Regions from separate parts of the Homo sapiens genome. Here all the other regions are linked to region 4. The links are contacts of gene promoters, found by promoter capture Hi-C in blood cells and fetal thymus (Javierre and others, 2016). All regions are on one chromosome and are shown on one strand. Each heading gives the region's core, a stretch centred on a gene start or on the middle of the fragment in contact. The rest is flanking DNA. Distances are from core to core; before and after follow the strand shown. Region 1 overlaps LRRC8B (leucine rich repeat containing 8 VRAC subunit B). Region 2 has its middle 27 kb from the start of LRRC8B. Region 3 has its middle 9.0 kb from the start of LRRC8B. Region 4 holds the start of LRRC8D (leucine rich repeat containing 8 VRAC subunit D). Region 5 has its middle 55 kb from the start of LRRC8B.

What was found. Contacts are between HindIII fragments. The CHiCAGO score rates a contact against its expected background, and 5 or more counts as called.
Region 1: a contact is called between a fragment that was not itself captured here and the fragment with the promoter of LRRC8D in region 4, in 5 of 17 cell types (monocytes, total B cells, M1 macrophages and 2 more). The highest score is 6.5, in monocytes.
Region 2: a contact is called between a fragment that was not itself captured here and the fragment with the promoter of LRRC8D in region 4, in 1 of 17 cell types (activated CD4 T cells). The highest score is 5.8, in activated CD4 T cells.
Region 3: a fragment that was not itself captured here is called in contact with the fragment with the promoter of LRRC8D in region 4 in 12 of 17 cell types (activated CD4 T cells, total B cells, non-activated CD4 T cells and 9 more); the score reaches 8.0 in activated CD4 T cells.
Region 5: a fragment that was not itself captured here is called in contact with the fragment with the promoter of LRRC8D in region 4 in 3 of 17 cell types (activated CD4 T cells, non-activated CD4 T cells and naive CD4 T cells); the score reaches 7.1 in activated CD4 T cells.

The regions. Positions count from the first base shown.
Region 1 is chr1:89,552,865-89,555,564 of GRCh38, reverse strand. All of the region lies in intron 1 of LRRC8B (leucine rich repeat containing 8 VRAC subunit B), which reads right to left. Among named protein-coding and RNA genes, the nearest start is that of LRRC8B, 29 kb to the right of the region's middle. The HindIII fragment of the contact is 2,997 bases long and covers 1-2,700 here.
Region 2 is chr1:89,496,613-89,499,312 of GRCh38, reverse strand. No RefSeq gene overlaps it. Among named protein-coding and RNA genes, the nearest start is that of LRRC8B, 27 kb to the left of the region's middle. The HindIII fragment of the contact is 1,576 bases long and covers 486-2,061 here.
Region 3 is chr1:89,514,495-89,517,194 of GRCh38, reverse strand. No RefSeq gene overlaps it. Among named protein-coding and RNA genes, the nearest start is that of LRRC8B, 9.0 kb to the left of the region's middle. The HindIII fragment of the contact is 2,374 bases long and covers 144-2,517 here.
Region 4 is chr1:89,819,685-89,822,384 of GRCh38, reverse strand. LRRC8D (leucine rich repeat containing 8 VRAC subunit D) reads right to left here and starts at 1,353. Exons shown (of 3, transcript NM_001134479.2): 1 at 1,094-1,353. LRRC8D-DT (LRRC8D divergent transcript) reads left to right here and starts at 591. Exons shown (of 1, transcript NR_185885.1): 1 at 591-2,211. RefSeq lists silencers at 384-603, 475-684, 775-874, 975-1,324, 1,765-1,824. The HindIII fragment of the contact is 10,555 bases long and covers 1-2,700 here.
Region 5 is chr1:89,468,079-89,470,778 of GRCh38, reverse strand. No RefSeq gene overlaps it. Among named protein-coding and RNA genes, the nearest start is that of LRRC8B, 55 kb to the left of the region's middle. The HindIII fragment of the contact is 4,080 bases long and covers 1-2,700 here.

The DNA of each region.
Region 1 (2,700 bases), core at 58-2,557, 270 kb after region 4:
TATTTCTCTCTGAGGTCTGGTCTACATGTATCATGCTTATCAATGCACCCCAGGGCTTAGCTTGTAGAAGCTGCTACTAAATATTAATTGAACAGATACAAGAGTTTTAATTAGACCTCCTTGTTTGGAAGCAAAAACTGCAAAAATATCTTACAATCTTCATACCTTCTTACCTTCAATTTACATCCCAAATTCTACATGACATGAAAGGCTTCCTGAATCCTTTAGCAGAGACTAAAGACTCCATTTGAGCCCCATCAGCAGAGAAGACGAATTTAGCTCAGCCATAGCATTCAGAATAAGTTAGGGCAGCTCTGGGCACTCTGAAGTGATAGAGTAAGGTTCTTCTAAAATAACGCACAAATAACTAATATGAATCACATAGAATGCCTACATTCCAAAAAAGGTGACAGGTCATTTCTCCACATTAGGCTGGCTTCGGGCTTCATAACTCAGCAGGATTCTGCAGCTTCACTTGGTCTTAGCAAAGAGGAGAAACATGGGCCCTCTGGAAACAGAGTTTCAATGGTTTTCCAGGAGACAAAAGATATACTCCCCATCTGGAAGTTTGACACATGACTTCTAAATCAGGGTGGGGCTCTGTCATAGCTGAGTGACAAAATCAGCTGCACAACACACAGAGTCTCTAAGTTTCTCCTTTATACACAGCAGATGAATCTATGGTTATTTCTTAGCAACCAAATTTGAAGGGCAAAAAGACTGTGCCAAGAAAACTACAAGTGTAGTTTTTTTCCTGTCTTTTCTCTCTCATCCATGCACAAAAAATAATATTTACCTATTTATATTTGACAATACCATCTGTTTTTATTGTGTGGAGAGTCTTATCCATTTAAGGAAGGCAACAACTTTGTGACTCTCAGTTGAAGAAAGGTAGAAATGAAGAAGGCCTTATGTAACACCAACTTGTGTCACCAACAGCAAGTGGAAATATTACATCTTGCACATGCTCTGACACTAGGTGTACTCGACAATCATGATGAAGTTTCTGCTGGGTGCAAAGAACTGGCCCAGGTAATGAAGGCAATCGAAAGGTGTCACACTCAGACCTAAATCTCAAAAGGAGCTTATGCATTGGTGAAAGAAGGCATAAGTACAAGAAAGATCAAACAAATGAATTATACAGTTACATCTTAAAGTAATACATGCTAGAAGAACAATAGTCACTGTACAGGGTTTATGAGTTGGACCAAGAAAGATGCGTAAGATTTATATAGTTAGGGGGTGAAGGAATAAGGGGTAAAAGGGGTTGGTTAATAACAGGGCACATAATATTTTATGTGGAGGAATGGAACAACAAATAAAGAAGGCAAAAGAAAGCCAAGGTCAATTTAATGAATTAGTGAGCAGATGCATAGATGGAGTGGAATTTATGAGACAGAAATGATGGGGCTAAGAGTAGAAAGGTGATTAGGATCAAATGCTAATTAAGTCTCAAATTCCACACTAAAAAATTTTCAAGATTTAACTCAGGCCCAGAACATAACAGGCACCTGAGAAATTATTGCTTTAGGGGGTAAATATGTCACTTTTAGAATATTCAAATCTTTTTACAAGGAGAGAGGAATTTAGGCTTGATATAAGCAGTAGGAAGTCACTGGTGGTATCTGAGCAAGGGAATGACAGAAAAATACATTTAGGGACATACTATTATATATCAAGAAAATTAATTTGAAAGCATCAGAAAGAATTCATTGGAGAGAGTTCAAGATTGACAGCAGGAAGCCTAATTTTATATTAGGGTATATATCTAGGTACCTTGAGAAATAAAACATAAATGGACTTCAAAATTAAAATTCTGAGTAGAAAAATAGTTACGCTTTAAAAAATTAAACTTTCAGATTTAGCCAGTAAACTGATGCAAATGGACAAAGTAATTAGATTTTAAGGAAGCAGACGTTTCCTGAAATTCTTAACTGACTTTTTCCAAAGAGAAATAAATTTGATTTGTACTTTTTTAGACTAGGTAATACCTGAGTACTCTGGTGGAATTAAATACTTAATGGTAAAAATACCACTTTTAGAATAGGCAAAGATTTTGTATGAAGCTGTAACACAGAAGAACAGTCATTTACAACACACACACAAAAGGGTGCCAGATATATTCTGGGCCAGGTTAAACATGCTGAGATCAAACATCAACTTAAGAATACACTGGGCCCTGAATCAATGGAAAAATCATTTGGCATTATGACACTCACCATGCAATCAAACCTCTGTTTAAAATCAAGTTACAATTACTCTAATTATGGACAAACATTTCATTTGTTGCACAACTGGTACCTAATCAAACACTTCTGTAGAAGAGATGATTTCACCACAAGGTAACTTAATTTCAGTGCGAAATAAGTCTTTTAAATTATTTTTAAAGAGTGTTTTTAACCAATTTACATGTCAGAAATTTTATTTCTATAAAAATTACTACATGAACTAAGTCTAAATCAAACAAAAATGCCTTCCTCTACTTTGAAACAATAGTCTTCTCTCATAAACATTTTATTCAAATATTTCCCAGCAACAGGCTTGTGTGCACTAACCAGGAAGTGAAACCAAATATGATCATATTGTGAAAGCAGAGTAAAATGAAAGAACACAATTGGAATTATCTGAAGCATTATTAAAATTTCATCTGAAAATCCAATTCCCTTGGAAACAACAATTTAATCAAGGAAGTAATAAAAG
Region 2 (2,700 bases), core at 24-2,523, 320 kb after region 4:
AAGGGCATTTAGCCTTCCTGCATACATGGTTTAAGTTTTTCAATGGCATTTCTTGAATTAGTTTAATTCTTTTTCCCCCTGGAGAATGTGTATGCATTAAATTAGCAGTTGTACTAAAAACCACAACATAGCTTATTCAAGTCTTGTCTCTACTAGTCATAAGCAATTAATATTGGGAAAATTATATAACCTGTATGTGTCTCGATTTCCTCATTTGTAAAAGGCAATAATATGTACTTCATAGGGTTGTTGTAAGAACAAACTGAAATAATACAATACTTCACACAGTGACTGGAACTTAATAAGATATTGATACATGTTTACTCTTTATTATTGGGATTCAGAAGAGCATATCAGCTATTTCCATGATAATAGGCTCATAGGAGGGGCTAGGACTCATCAGTACACTGCTAAAAGGGAGCTGCAACTGGATGCGTGTACTGGGGTGGATATTTAGGCAAGCCACAGAGGTAGATGCCAAAGCTTGGTGATGCAGCGAAGTCCCACTTATCAGAAGTGGGGCCTGGAGCCAGGGTCGGATTAAGAATGAAGGTCGCCACGTGGAGCTCTGAGATGATGTGGGGATGGGGCAGTCTCAAGCTAGGCCTAGGGACTGAGCTGGCTGGTGTGAACCTGGATACAGATCCAGTGATTCTGGGTGGGGAAGAATATAGAGGTCAGGAACTGGGTTGAGCTAGACCCAGGGCCCTTTATAAATCTATTTTTTTATTAGTCTATATTAGATTTTATGCAATGACTGTTCTGCGGTGAAGGGTCTATGCAAACATACTTCCAAAGGTGAGGGAGCTGAAGAATACAGAAAATGGTGGACAAATCTGTTTTTTCAGAGAGAAACAAATATTTAATAGGGACTTACAAGAAGAAAGAATGTCTCAGGCGGCTGTGAGATGGTGGATCCATGCATTAACCCTCCAGAAAGTATTCTTTTTTAAAAAATTTAAAATTGTAGGTACATAGTAGGTATATGTATTTATGGGATACATGAGATATTTTTATATAGGCATACAATGCATAATAATCACATCAGGATAAATGGGGTATCTGTCACCTCAATCATTTATCCTTTGTGTTACAAATAATCCAATTATACTCTTTTAGTTATTGTAAAATGTACAACAAATTATTGTACCCTGTTGTGCTATCAAATACTAGATATTATTTATTCCCTCTAACTATATTTTTGTACCCATTAACCATCCACCCTCCACCCCTACACCCCCACACTACCCTTCTCAGCCTCTAGTAACCATTGTTCTACTCTCTATCTCCATGAGTTCAATTATTTTAATTTTTAGCTCCCACACGTAAGTTAGAAAAGACAATGTTTGTCTTTTTCTCCCTGGCTTATTTCACTTAACCTAATGACTTCCAGTTTTATCCATGTTGTTGCAAATAACAGAATCACATTCTTTTATGGTTTAACAGTACTCCATTGTGTGTATGTACCACATTTTCTTTATCCATTTCTCTGTTGATGGACACTGAGGTAGCTTCCAAATCTTGGCTATTGTAAATAGTGCTGCAATAAATAAGAGAATGCAGCTCTCACCTCAATATACTTATTTTCTTTCTTTTGGGTATATACTCAGCAGTGGGATTGCTGGATCATATGGTAGCTCTATTTTTAGTTTTTTGAGGAACCTCCAAACTGTTCTTTGTAGCAGTTGTACTAATTTATACTCTGACCAACTCCACATTCTCACCAGCATTCATTATTGCTTGTCATTTGGATAAAAGCGATTTTAACTTGGGTGACATTATCTCTCATTGTAGTTTTGATTTATATTTCTCTGATGATTAGTGGTGTTGAGCACCTTTTCATATGCCTGTTTGTCATTTGTATATCTTATTTTGAGAAAGGTCTATTTAGATCTTTTGCCCATTTTGAAATCAGATTATTGGATTTTTTCCAGCAGAGTTGTTTGAGCTCCTTATATATTCTGCTTATTAATCCCTTGTCAGATGCATACTTTGCAAATATTTTGTCCCATTGAGTTGGCTCTTCACTTTGTTGATTGTTTACTTTGCTGTGCAGAAGCTTTTTAACTCGATGTGATCCCATTTGTCCAGTTTTGCTTTGGTTCCCTGTTCTTTTTTTTTTTTCACCAATTCCTGACCTATTTATTTTTTACTTTTTATTATTTTTTCTTTTTTCTTTTATTATTATTATTATACTTTAAGTTTTAGGGTACATGTGCACAATGTGCAGGTTAGTTACATATGTATACACATGCCATGCTGGTGTGCTGCACCCACCAACTCGTCATCTAGCATTAGGTATATCTCCTAATGCCATCCCTCCCCCCTCCCCCCACCCCACAACAGTCCCCAGAGTGTGATGTTCCCCTTCCTGTGTCCATGTGTTCTCATTGTTCGGTTCCCACCTATGAGTGAGAACATGCAGTGTTTGGTTTTTTGTCCTTGCAATAGTTTACTGAGAATGATGATTTCCAATTTCATCCATGTCCCTACAAAGGACATGAACTCATCATTTTTTGTGGCTGCATAGTATTCCATGGTGTATATGTGCCACATTTTCTTAATCCAGTCTATCATTGTTGGACATTTGGGTTGGTTCCAAGTCTTTGCTATTGTGAATAGTGCCGCAATAAACATACGTGTGCATGTGTCTTTATAGCAGCATGATTTATAGTCCTTTGGTATTATACCCAGTAATGG
Region 3 (2,700 bases), core at 81-2,580, 310 kb after region 4:
CTTGTCCCTGAATCTTACACACCTAAATGCAAACACACCTTCCAATTATCTGCTTGTTCTTCTTTTTATCCACTTCTTTGTCTCCATCAAATTTCTGTTTCTGGAGCATATAAAGGCAACAGGACACTTGCTCATAAGAAGCTTGAAGTTTTTAAAACGTAAAATATGCAAGTAAATATGTAGCCAGATATGTGAGCAGATATGGGGGTCCAGTAAAATCCCCTAACACAAGCTATATACAAGGTATATAGATTTACACCTATAACTCAAATGTGCTTTGTAATAGCTGAATGTAGCCTGGCTACCTTATGATAAAGGGTATGAAAATAATGGGTTTTTTTAAACCTCATTACAAAATTGAGGGACAACGATAATTAATTAGTTATTATCTTGATACAGGAGAGATTGGGTTAAAGTGGGAAAAACATTTTTAGAAATAACATCATGCTGAGTGAATTAAAGAACTTAGGGCTTCAGAGGAAGCCTGTTGTTTTAGTAAGCAGAACAGATTTTGGTGGCTGACAAAGACCTCAGTGTAGGTGGGAAAGTTATGGTAGCTTGATTACAAGGAAAGAAGTGGGGACTCATACTAAAAGATGAAAATAGATATATAGGTGGTGGAAATTTTGCAGTTTCATATCTATCTTTGAGTGAACTCAATTTCCAAAATTTCTGGAATTACTTAGTTTATCAATTCAATAAGCAGATATAATATTTTGCTATTCAGGGTCCCCAAGGACAAAAAGGATATGTGCATTCTAACAAAATACAATAACAAAGCGAGCAATTTTTACTTATAAACTAGTTTGTAGTTCATACAAATCACTCAAATAATGTATTATAGCCATTTCTAAACAACATTCTCTTACCCCATGGCCTGTATACCTAAGAGTGACTAATAATCTATTAGCAGTCCCTCGCCTTGCTGAGTCACTCTGTTAAACCTCCTGCAGCTCAGGCACCATTCAGAGGTCCACGAGGTTGGAAGATGACACTTGCTTAACTGCAGATGTCTTACCTCCTCTGGAGGAATGCTGCGACACTGTGTGTGTGAGGAGGGAAAAGGCCAAATTCATCACATGGACTGGTGTATTTCCAGTAACTGGGTCTGTGCTTTTTACCAAGTGGGCACAGAATAAATATTTATTCATTGATGAGTGAATGTATGAAATGAAATGAGGTCTGAGACTTCTGAAACACAGATTTTCTCTATCTTGGGTATTCCAGTCATCCCAGGATTTAACCCCAACTCCATCCACTTTAGGTTTTACAGCTTAACCTGTTCCTACTTGATTGAAAACACATATAGAAGACCAGGGTTTGGAGATAGGAGGGAGTACATGGGGGTGATTAGGGATGACAAAGGAATAATACACCAGTGGCAATATTTGCCAAAGTTAGCTTATTATAAATATATTTGTCATGACTTTGGATGTCCTCATTTCCTCCTCCTGGTAGCATCCTCATCCACGTTGGCAATCACACTACTCTTTTCAACTTGTGTGTTTTGTGACTTTTAAGTATCATAATATCATGAGATATTAGGTTTGGAGATGCTGGAAACAACCATGATGATTAGTATCAAATAGCAAGCCAGTGTATGAACATGTGTCAAAAATTCATGCCTATCTTTAGAAATAGCTACCTAAGCATAGCTTGGATTCTGAAGCAAAACTACTGGGTTCAAATCTTGGCTTTGTCCTTATGAACTGTTTGGTCTTTGTCAAGTTACTCAATTTCTCTGTGCCTTAGTTTGCTGCTTGAGGAACTGATTGTGGTGAGGATCATTCAAATATATAATGTGGTTAAGGCAGTTCTGGGAACATAATAAGTCCCATATTAGTATTAGCTATAATAATAATCTCAAATAAGTCACTTACCTGCTTTGTATTTATAATTTTCATCTTTAAAATGAGAGGCTTTGATTAGTTTGTCTCTAAGGCCCTTGTTTTAGTCCATTTGTTTTTTGATAAAGGAACACCGGAGGCTGGGTAACATGAGTTTCTTTAACTCACAGTTCTGCAGGCTGTACTGGGAGCATAGTGCCAGCATCTGCTCAGCTTCTGGTAAGGGCTTCAGGCTACTTTCATTCATGACAGAGGTGAAGGGGAGTCAGAATATAGAAATTAGATGGTGAGAGAGGAGGCAAGAGAGAGGGGAGGGAGGTGCTAGGTTGTTTATAACAATTGGCTCTTGCAGGAACTAGTAAGAGTGAGAACTCATTTACCTCCCCAGCCGCAAGGAAGGCATTAATCTCTTTATGAGGGAATCATCTCCATGTACCAAACACCTCCCAATAGACCCCACCTGCAACATTAGAGATCAAATTTTAATATGAGTTTTGGGGGAACAAACATTCAAACTATAGCAACCTCCTGAACCTACTGTTTTCAAACAAGGACAATTAATCCATACATTTTTCTACATATATGTGTATGGTTAGAGAAGTGAATGATTAGTTACTAGATGCTTTCCTTGATTGATGGAAGAAAGGTGATTAGGAAATTGAGGCAAGCTTCTTAACTAGACTCTAAATTTCTTGAGTATGTCTTTTCCCCCCTTTGATACTCCAAAGCCTAACATGGTACCTTGGGATAGTGGGCGGTCAATAAACTGTTAATTAACATGAAATAAATGCTTTTTTATTTTGTATGCCTAGGTGTGTGGGGATGGGAAAGTGTGATAACTGCTTCCTAAGCC
Region 4 (2,700 bases), core at 104-2,603:
CTCCAGCTGGGCCCCACATTCCGCTAGGACTCCCCAGTACCTATTCCCCATCTCTCCGCCTACATCCTGAGTGCGCCCTCCCTCTCATCTCGGCTGTTTCCTTCCCACAACCCTACCTCCATACTTTCGGCCACACACACCCCAAGTGCGTGCTCCTGGAACCTCACAGCCCACCTCTCCCTCTCCAGCAAGGACCTACCTCTCTTCCCCTCGACCTGCAGCAGTTCTTCTTCACTGCAGCTGGCTTTTTAAGAAATCAAAAAATCTCATTTATCTGCAAGGGATACCCCCTAGTAAAGGGTGACGGAAAGGAGAAGGCCCCTATCAACCCTCCAGTAACTGGAGGTGCTGGTCCTCCCGGCAACCACCCCCAATTCTCCTCCTTTTCAAGCCCCTGGACAGGATTTGAGCAGAAGTCCCGCTCCCAAGAGCCCACGCCTCCAAACAAGCTAGAAGCGGATTATACCGGTACCCAACCCGGAGACGGCCCGCGGACGGCTGGGTGCACCTGCGGGCCCCCAGCTCCCTCCCACAGGCGCGGGGGGCGGGGCGCGGGCCTTCACCTCCCCGCCCCCGCCCGCCGGGCTCCCAGCGCAGCCCACCCTGCACAGGAAGGAAGCGGAGGGGAGGCGATTCTGGAGAAGTTAAAGGGCTCACCTTTGGACGCCGGGCCAGCAAGGCCAGACACCAAACACCCACCTCCGGGAGGAACCAGCAGAGCCGAAACCGGCTCTCCCCGCCTTTCCGATAGGGCGGAGGGAGGTGAGAGAAGGGAGCGCGCGCGAGGGGTTCAGGAGCCAGGAAGCCGCACTCCCCTCCCGCAGGGCCGGCCGCCCGGGGCCGAAGCGGCCGACGCTCAGACTGCAGAAAGCGGAACAATCTCCCAGGCCCTGGCGGCAGCAAACGGGAGCCCACTCCGCTCGCCGCCACCTCCTCCCGACCCCCGGACGTCCCCGAATGAGTTCCCGGCCGCAACCGCAGCTCGGGCCGCGGCGCCTGCGCCAGGGTTGCGCGCTCCGGCTCGGCGCGGCTCCACCTGCGCGTCGCCTTCCCTCGCAGCCCCCGGCCCCTGCCGGGAGAGGTGCGCACCAACCTTGGGGTGCAGCTCGGCCGCCAAGCCACGGCTTATGCTGAGGCCGGAGGTGGCGGCATCACCCGCGGCGGGCGGCGGCTGCACCGGGACGCGCCGGGGCGGCGAAGGCGCGCTGCACCCTGGACCCTGCTCCCGCGGCCCCGCCCGCGGCTGCCACCTCGAAGCGCGGCGGAGGAGCCGGGGCACCACGGGCGGCGGCAGCGGCAGCGGCAGCAGCGGCGACGGGAGCAGCAGCACATGACTCTGTAACGAGGGGAATTAGACAAAGCGTAACATGGACTCCGGGCCCGTGCAGGCGCTGCAGCTCTGGGACCAACCGCAGCCGGCGAGTGCCGCGACTGGCCCGGCCGCAGCCAATGGGGCGGGCCCGGGCCTCCATGTGATTGCGAGCGCTTTCTCCGGTGGCCCTGCAGCGCCTGACCGGACGGGGTCTGTGTGGCGAGGGAGGGGACCCGGGGTTGGAGACTGGCGGCGAGCGACTGCTAGATGCGGAGCAGGTGCTTGGGAGGGGAAGAACGGCAGCCTACATAACCATCGCCGTAATGCTCTCGCAAGCGTCCACCTGGGCAGGGCTCGGTGCCGGGCAGGCGCAGCTGCCAGTTAGCTGCGAGGCATGGTCAGGAGCCTTCACCCGTCCTGGGCGAAGGAGGCTGTCCCGTCGACTAAAACTCTGATATTAAGACTTGGCGCTGGGGGTGGGGAGTTGAATTACGTTAAAAAGTCACTTAAGTGCCTTCCAACTCTAAGGAGAAGTACTTATCTGAGCTTTGGGGCACACACAACTACTACTTGGCATGGAGAGTTTCTCAGCTTCATGTGTTCCGTCTGTTATTGAAGCTGTATTGGAAAGTCGGTTCTTGTTTTTATCTGAGCCCGCCGTTTTCATCCCATTCTTTTCGTCAAAAATATGTTACATCTGAAAGAGGCAGATGAAAAGATTATTCTATGCTAAGAGGGTTTTGCAGCCCGATAATGTCACCGTTTTTTGTTGTTGTTGTTGTAGGATCGGGGTTCATTTGCAGTCTTTTTTGTGGGTGAGCAGAGGCAGGGGCCAATAAATAAATTAAGGCGGGATATTTGGAGTTATTTGGTTGTAATAAAATATGTGGTTCAACCCAGTGCTTTCATATCTTCTTTTATCTGAATCCATGTGTTTCTGTAAACCATCGGAAGTCTAATCTGTCTTCTACCAATATCTCTCCATGTCAGCAAATGTTCAATCAACGTTTACCCAGCATCTAAATATTCTTAATAAGCATGCTGCACAAATGTTACAGGTACTCAGGAAGGTGTCGGTTCAGAGACAGTGAGACATTAAAGAGAATGATTGTCCAGGGTTTCAGAAAAGGATTCAGAGAGGAGCTGATAGAATTGACCCTTGGATGGTGAGCACTTGGCCCTCAGGCATTGGACGTGAAGAAGAGCAGCCCAAACAGGAACATGAACAGAGAGGTCCAGAATACACTCAAGGGACTGCCCGAGACCCGTTACAAGATGCCACCAGATTCTGAGCCCTCGGCCCTTTTGCTCTCACTTTCCTTCCCCGACCCTCCTTGCCAGCAGCCACTCCTGTTCCACACACTGCCAAGAAGGAGGTGTATGGGCAG
Region 5 (2,700 bases), core at 10-2,509, 350 kb after region 4:
TTCTTTGCTTTTCTTTATTTTTTAGAAAGTTCATTGTCTCATTTTTTTCTTTTTTTTTATTATTATACCTTAAGTTCTGGGATATATGTGCAGAATGTGCAGGTTAGTTACATAGGTATACACATGCCATGATGGTTTGCTGCATCCAACAATCCGTCGTCTACATTACATATTTCTCCTAATAATATCCCTGCCCTAGACCCCCACCCCCCAACAGGCCCCAGTGTGTAATTTTCCCCTCCCTGTGTCCATGTTTTCTTTACTTTTAACATTTGTTTTCTAGCTCAGAGCTTAGGGCATACATTGATTATTTCTTAAATTTGTTATATCACTTAGGTTTGTTAGATTAATACATAAATAGATTTGGAAGGGTCAAAAAGCTAGAGATTTTTGGAATGTGAGGTTCCTTGTCATTTAATAGAATTTCAAGATATTTCCTGAATACTCTGATACAAATAGACCTTTTTTAGAGAAGAAAAGTTTAGGGAACTGCAGTTACTCATGTATGCTTGGAGAGGAATATTGTCCTCATGGGTTGACCTCGTAGCACTGGCAGCAATACATGAGACTTAGAGGAGACAGGACTCTCAAACCATCCTAGTCAACCATCAGCTCTAAAGATAAATAGAGTGACATATGAGGCAGACAGAAGGCTTTTATTTCCAGAATTTCTGCAGAGGTTTTTGGAGTAAACATTTTGTGCATTTAAAATGTCTCTTAATATTCAGGAATCTTTCTTAGTCTTTGGTTTTGTCTATATTCTGGCCATTTCTAATTTCACCAGATGACCATGGAAGGTTGGTTGGAATTTGGAATGCAGCCCAGGGAAATACTGCTCACCTAAGTAGCTCTTGTTTAACTTTAGTGGAGGAGAAGGTAAAAATGAATGCCCACTCTGTGGATGAAGGTAGGTTTTGGAGCTCATTTATTCATCTCTTTCCCAGGTTGGCACGAATTAAAATAAAAAAATTAATCTCACTCTGTCTCCAGCTATTGTAAAACAATTTCTGATTTTTGTTTGTCTTTTCTTATTCTTTTTCTCAAACTCTCCAGCTTCACTAAATTTAATTTATGATGTTTTAAACTAAATAAACTGAAAAAGACTTCGAGATGAATCATTTTCTATTTATAATTTGTTTAGGTATCCCAGTTTTTCAGTCATATCTCTTGAAAGACTCAGGATTTTTATCATAACCTTTTAAAATTTGGTATATTACCCTTGAGGGGTAAGTGCGATGTTTGCCTAGAATCCTGCAATTTATGAATTTAAACAGCAAAAATAAATCACTACCGGCATTATATTAACAAAAGATTTATAGTCACCACAAAGCTGCAAACAATAAGATGTTGTTATTTAGCTTCAACTTGATTAAAAAACTGAGCAAGTGATTATACATTCATGGCTTTTGCTCCTGTAGCTCAATGTGAAATATAGTATGGGAACCAGTTTTCTAGGTGTTTCGGTTACCTATTATATATAGCTTGGGGTGGTTTGTTACCACCCCATCAGCATTGTTCTGAAGCTGCAATGAGATGGGCAATATAAGGTCTATAAGCATTCAATTATTATGAACTATTATTATTATCTTCCCTTATGATTTCAAGCACATTTATAACATAATAGTTATTTTAACTTGTATTTTCCTAGGCTCCCTGTAGTTTAAACAGCCAGGTTGATGATGATGCCCTTTACTAAAATAGAAGGAATGAGACAAAAATATGTAATTTTGCAAGGAATGATTCTAGAGGCTGTTAAGAATATGTATGAGCATATATTCAATTGTTCATGTATACATGCATAGATTTAATATATGCAGATGTATAACGAGAGAGAGGGAGAGAGAGAAAGAGAGAGGGAGATAATGAGAGAGAGGTAAGGGGTAAATAATTTTGGAGCCAACTATCCCAGCTGATAATGCATAACTAAGACCTTCATTACTCTTTGCTCTTGAAGACAGAAATTTTACCTTATTCATCTTTATAGTTTCTCTAACACACAACATTATCTGTCAACTTCATGTGGCAGGGCATTCATAATTTTTTTTGCTAAACTGTACTAACATATTCCAGCTAGAGTCAGCATGAGAAATAATCTGGAGACAATTTTTGAAGCTCCTCATTATTTCACAGATTCAGTTATTCCAGGTTAAACCATGCCTTTCATTTACTGAGTGTTCTAAATATTCTTCTTTGCTTTCTCAATATGGTAACAGAACACAGAGAAATGTACAATGTGAGTATTCTCTTTGTTTTTTAATGTCAATAACTTCTTTTAGAACTTGAAACAAACGTGTCTGTTTTGTCATTTATTAGTATTCAGTCCTAATTTATATTTATAATTCATAAAATGTTTTATTAGTCATTTCAGAATTTGATAAAAAAATAAACCTTTTAGGTATCACCATTATACTCATACAATCAGTAAGGAAGCATGCTCAGAGTTTAACCATTCAGCTAGTGCATGGTGGAAGTAGGACTTAAACTTTTGTCTTCCAACTTCAGGATGTGTGCATGGCAAGGGCTTCATCAGGAAAAAGCAACTTTGGGGATGTATATGAATTTAAATCATTCCTATTACCTTGAATAAGTTGAAATGATCCTGCATATTTCAAAATGTCTAATTAAAACACTTTAGAAACATCTTTTTTTTTTTTTTGAGGTGGAGTCTCGCTCTGTCACCCAAGCTGGAGTGCAGTGGCG